Regions from separate parts of the Homo sapiens genome. Here region 1 is linked to region 2. Evidence: promoter capture Hi-C in 16 types of primary human blood cells and fetal thymus (Javierre and others, 2016). All regions are on one chromosome and are shown on one strand. Each heading gives the region's core, a stretch centred on a gene start or on the middle of the fragment in contact. The rest is flanking DNA. Distances are from core to core; before and after follow the strand shown. Region 1 holds the start of FNDC10 (fibronectin type III domain containing 10). Region 2 holds the start of CDK11A (cyclin dependent kinase 11A).

Region 1 (2,700 bases), core at 139-2,638, 120 kb after region 2:
CCAAGGTCTCTGCCCCCAACCTCTCTGCGCCAGGTGCAGAGGCCTCAGCAGACCCTGCCAGGGGCCCAACAGGCTGGTGTAGGGGGTCAGGGCCCTCCATGCCGGGGACGGAGGTGCACCGTGACCACAGTTGGTGGGGGCCTGACCGCTGGGCCGGGGCTCTGGCAGAGCCCCTGAGATCCTGTGGGGTCCTGACCACTGCACTGGGTTTTTCAAGATGACCAGGAATTCGTGAGGCTGGGTGGTGACTCCGTGGGGGGGCGGAGACATGGCCATCCAGAGGTCGGGGACCAAGGACACCGTGAGCAGAATAGCCAGTCTCTCCTCACTCTGCCCCCAGGCAAGGAGAGCACAGGAAGGGGTTGCAGGAACTCATGGTCCAGTTGCCAGAGAGCCCCCCACAACCCCTGCAGACCCAGAGCTGGCTCAGCGGAGGTGCCAGCCCAGCCTTAGGTGCGAGGCTTGGCCTCCTTTCCAGTTAGGGCAGGCCGGCCAGGCCCGGCCACGTCTGCATACACAGTCCCTGGCTGTAGTCCTGGCCCTGGAGGGGTGTCCTGGTTGCTGGGTGATCTATGCAGGGACGGGAATGAGGGGCAGGGGTCTTGGGGTGTGTCCCGCCTTCCCCTCCCCCGTCGGTGCCACCTACTCAGTGCACCGGGTGGGCTTTTTGGATTCCCTTTGTCCAGCCCTGACCTCCCCACAGCCATCGGGAGGGCCCCCCAGAGCGCATCTGGAGGAGGAGGGGGCGCAATGAGGCAGGGAAGGTCGGCGCCCTGCAGCTGCCTCCGCTGCGTGTGGAGCGAAGGGAGTTCTCACCTTGCGAAGTCTCATCTGTCAGGCTTTCCTCCGGGTGGGCGCTGTCCGTCCTGAAAGGAACAGAAGCCGCGGGGTGAAGGAAAGTCTCCGTGCTGGTCCCCACCCCATCGGTATGGGCAGGTACCCTGACTGCGCGGGTCCCCGCCGCGGGTCCAGGGCGGCCAGCGTTGGGGTGCAAGGCCCGGGGTCCTGCGCGTGCCAGACCGCTGCGCCCCCATCGTAAAGCACGAAGTCCCCGACTGGTGTGGCCACGGGCGGTCGCGGAGCTGCACGACGCGAAACGAAGCCGGCCACAGCCCGTGAGTTTCGGCTCGGAAAAGCCGCAGGGGTCCAAGGTGCGCTCACTAGGCGGGAAGCCGGGAGAGCGGCGGCCCTGCCCGCACCCCGCGCCCCTGCCCGCACCCCAGCCCCACCGGCACTCCGGCCGCCTCGCTGCGTCCCCCTCCTCCCCCCCACCCCCGATCCCCCGCACCCGTAGGCCGCGGCCCGGCGAGGGTTAAGGGGGGCGGGGCGAGGGGCGGCCCCGCCTCCGCCGCCGCGCCGGGTCCGAGCGCGCACGGGGCGCGGGGGCGGGTCGGAGCGGGCGGCGGCGGAGGGCGCGGCGCGCCGGGGATCGCGGGGAGCGGGCAGCGGGGACGGCGGCGGCGCGGCCCGCGTGACCCAGCGCCGCGCCCCGTGGCCCCGCCGCAGGATGCGCGCCCCGCCGCTGCTGCTGCTGCTGGCCGCCTGCGCGCCGCCGCCCTGCGCCGCGGCCGCCCCGACGCCGCCGGGCTGGGAGCCGACCCCCGACGCGCCCTGGTGCCCCTACAAGGTGCTGCCCGAGGGCCCCGAGGCGGGCGGCGGGCGCCTGTGCTTCCGCAGCCCCGCGCGCGGCTTCCGCTGCCAGGCTCCGGGCTGCGTGCTGCACGCCCCGGCCGGCCGCTCCCTGCGCGCCAGCGTCCTGCGCAACCGCAGCGTCCTCCTGCAGTGGCGCCTGGCCCCGGCCGCCGCGCGCCGCGTGCGCGCCTTCGCGCTCAACTGCTCGTGGCGCGGCGCCTACACGCGCTTCCCGTGCGAGCGCGTGCTCCTCGGGGCCTCCTGCCGCGACTACCTGCTGCCCGACGTGCACGACAGCGTCCTCTACCGCCTGTGCCTGCAGCCGCTGCCGCTGCGCGCTGGGCCCGCCGCCGCCGCGCCAGAGACCCCCGAGCCGGCCGAGTGCGTGGAGTTCACCGCCGAGCCGGCCGGCATGCAGGACATCGTGGTGGCCATGACGGCGGTGGGCGGCTCCATCTGCGTCATGCTGGTGGTCATCTGCCTGCTGGTGGCCTACATCACCGAGAACCTCATGCGCCCGGCCCTCGCGCGCCCCGGCCTGCGCAGACACCCCTGAAGCGCGAGGCCGCCCGCCCATCTTTGCGCCACCTGCCTGAGGGCGCCTGAGCTCCCAGGTCCTCCGCCCGCTCTCCTCTCCTCATTCCTGCTGCCTCCTTAAGATCCCCGCGGAGGAGGACCTGCCGGCGACGGCTCCGGCACTTTGGCATCATCACACGCCCTTTCCAGCCGGGCGTCAGACTCCCAGACTCTGGCCCCGGATTGGCCCCTGGGCTTGCGCTGCTGTGCCAGCCGCATCCAGGGCTCTCCCCGCTCTCCGCAGGCCTTTATAGAGGCGGCCAGGGCATGGAGCCCCTTCCAGCAAGAGCCATGGGCACTCCGGCTCACCCCGCACCTCCATCCTGTGCCGAATTGTCCCAGACAGACCGTCGCCATTGCTCGGTCACTGTGCTTTGCAGGCCTGGGGCGCAGCTCTCCAAGCCTGTCCTGCCCCGCCCCACCCCACTGGGCTTAGGTTAGCTTCGTGCCTTAGTATCTCGGGCCCACTGCAGGAGCCAACACCCTCTGCTG
Region 2 (2,700 bases), core at 130-2,629:
AAAAAATTAGCCGGGCATGGTGGCAGGCGCCTGTAGTCACAGGTACTCAGGAGCCTAATGCGGGCGAATGGAGTGGAGGCGGGAGAATGGCGTGAATCCGGGTGGCGGAGCTTCCAGTGACCCGAGATCGCGCCACTGCACTCCAGCCTGGGCAACAGAGCGAGACTCCGTCTCAAAAAAATAAAAATAAAAAAAGAGCTTGGGTACACAAAGCAAGCAGCATTTCATTCCGGGATGAAAAGAATTCCGATACCCATCGCCCTTCTTGGGCCCTTGTCAGTTTCTTGCCACATCTTTCATTTTCCCATTTCAGGCCCAGTAAATGCGGATGTTTATCTTCCATTGTTTGTTTCCTGAGATTCAGATGTCTAAAGCATTTTTCTGTGACTTTTCAAGGCAAGAGGAAAACCTGACATATGGAAAGGGAATTAATTGCTCGTTTTATCCTCTTCTCCTGCAATGCTCTGAATCCATGGGTTTGGAGTGGGGCCCTGGGAGTTGGGGGAAGCACCATACCCAGTGAGTCTGCACTTTGAGGACCCACTGCCAGTGTCAGCTTCAAAATCACATTGTAAAAGGCCCGGCGCGGTGGCTCACGCCTGTAATCCCAGCACTTTAGGAGGACGAAGCAGGCGGATCACTTGAGGTCAGGAGTTCGAGACCAGCCTGGCCAATATGGCGAAACCTCGTCTCTACCAAAAATATAAAAATTAGCCGGGCGTGGTGGCGCGGGCCTGTGGTTCCAGCTACTCGGGAGGCTGAGGCAGGAAAATTCCTTGAACCCGGGAGGAGGCTGCAGTGAGCCAAGACCACGCCACTGCACTCCAACCTGGGCGGCAGAGCAAGGCTCCGACTCAAAAGTAAATACATGAATAAATAAAATAAAATCACATCGTAAGAGCTCTCCCTGCTTTGTTTCTGAGTAAGGTTCAGAGTTAAATTCCGAGATCGGCCTTTACAAGACACACAGACCTGAGGCGCCTCACGAGGTAACCAGCAGGTAAATGGAGCGCGCTCCACCCACCCGCCACTAGGGGTCCCAGCGGTCAAGGGGGTGGAATGCGGGCGTCCATCGCGAAGGCATTCTGCTCGCAAGCCTTGGCACAGGCGCGGGCTTCGCTACCGGAAAAGTCCCGGTAGGATTCCGGAAGCCGGCCACGCGTTCCGCGCAGGCGCAAACTGCTCCAAAAGTCGGCGTCGCTCTGCTCGGCGCCCCGGCCCGCGCCGAAGTCGGAAGTGCAGCTCACGGCGCAGTTTCTTTTGGAGTCCTGGACCTGAGCAAGCGCTGTTTTATGCGTCATCATCCCGCGCAGACACAGGAAGTGCCGCACAGAGCGAGCCCCTGTCGTCTTGAGTTCTGGGCCAGAGGTCGGCTATTATATCATCATTAGGCGTCAACACAGGAAGTGAGGATACTTCTGGCGAGCGCCGGTTGCTGTTTCTTCTCAGGCTCAGGGACCGGCCGCGGCCCCGTAGGGGTGAGTTCCGACTGGGCGGACCAGGTGTGGGAGCGCGACGAGAACTGCGCACCGAGGTCTTTCTTCCGAGCAGGCCTCGGAGCGGGGCGGACCCGGGCCCGGGGGCGAGCGACACCCTCGCTTCCGCGGACAGTCTCATCCCGCACGGAACTTTGGGTGGTGGAGGCGGCGGGTCCAAACGCTGTCTGGAGCCAACGTCTGCCAGGCTGAACCTCAAGTGTGCGGGACTGAACCCGAGGAAATAGCCCAGTGCCCGGGTCAGGTGGCCTTGTTCGCGAGCACATCTCGGAGCATCTCCCCGGTCTCAAGGTGCAGCTGTCCAGTGTGCTAGTGGCTTCACGTAGTCCAAGCGGTCTTTCTAGCAGATTCTGACAGTAAAAGCAGTGTTTGATGAGTGGCAGGTCCTGAGTTAAGAGCCTTTAAACGGATGATCTTTAATCCGCGATCGATACTATCACGTAGGTGTTGTTATTCTGGTTGTACGGAAGACTGAACTGAGGTGAATTACGTTACCCAAGACCATACAAGAATGACAGAAACGAGACTTGATTTCAAGCGGTCATTTTTCAGAACCCATCACTCTTTTTTGTCGCCCATGCTGCAGCGCAGTGGCTGTTCACAAGCGCACTTCAGCCTGGAACTCCTGGGCTCAATCGGTCTCCCATCTCAGCTTGCAGAGTATATGGGACTACAGGCGCTCGCCACCTTGCCTGGCTTACAACTTATCATTCTTGTTTTTTTTTTTTTTTTTTTTTTTTTTTTTTTTTTTGAGACGGGGTCTTGCTGGAGTGCAGTGACGCGACCTCGGCTCACCGGAACCTCCGCCTTTCGGATTCAAGCGATTCTGCTGCCTCGGCCTCCCGAGTAGCTGGGATTACAGGCACCCGCCACCACGCCCAGCTAAGTTTTGTATTTTTAGTGGAGACAGGGTTTTCGCCGTGTTGGCCAGGCTGGTCTTGACCTCCCGACCTTGTGATCCACCCGCCTCAGCCTAGAGCTTACCTTTTTTTTTTTTTTTTTTTAACCAAGTCTTACTTTGTTATCTAGGCTGGAGTGCAGTGGCGCAGTCTTGGCTCATTGCAGCCTTGACCTCTCTGATTCAAGTGATCCTCCTGCCTCTAGCAGCCTCCTTCCTGTAGCTAGGAATACAGGCACGCGCCACCACACTGGGCTAACTTTTGTATTTTTTGTAGAGACGAGGTTTTGCCATGTTGCCCGGGCT

What was found. The method cuts DNA at HindIII sites, captures the fragments that hold promoters and counts their contacts. A CHiCAGO score of 5 or more calls a contact.
Region 1: a contact is called between the fragment with the promoter of FNDC10 here and the fragment with the promoter of CDK11A in region 2, in 17 of 17 cell types (activated CD4 T cells, monocytes, endothelial precursors and 14 more). The highest score is 10.2, in activated CD4 T cells.

What each region holds. Positions count from the first base shown.
Region 1 is chr1:1,598,823-1,601,522 of GRCh38, reverse strand. It overlaps FNDC10 (fibronectin type III domain containing 10), which reads left to right and starts at 1,388. Exons shown (of 1, transcript NM_001242659.2): 1 at 1,388-2,700. The coding sequence starts at 1,508. The coding sequence ends at 2,188. It overlaps LOC105378586 (a long non-coding RNA gene), which reads right to left and starts at 2,090. Exons shown (of 3, transcript NR_147951.1): 1 at 1,907-2,090; 2 at 817-866. RefSeq lists enhancers at 255-914, 915-1,574, 1,575-2,234, 2,235-2,700 and silencers at 1,312-1,361, 1,662-1,781. The HindIII fragment of the contact is 12,096 bases long and covers 1-2,700 here.
Region 2 is chr1:1,723,036-1,725,735 of GRCh38, reverse strand. CDK11A (cyclin dependent kinase 11A) reads left to right here and starts at 1,379. Exons shown (of 20, transcript NM_024011.4): 1 at 1,379-1,478. RefSeq lists enhancers at 447-1,286, 1,267-1,496. The HindIII fragment of the contact is 24,282 bases long and covers 1-2,700 here.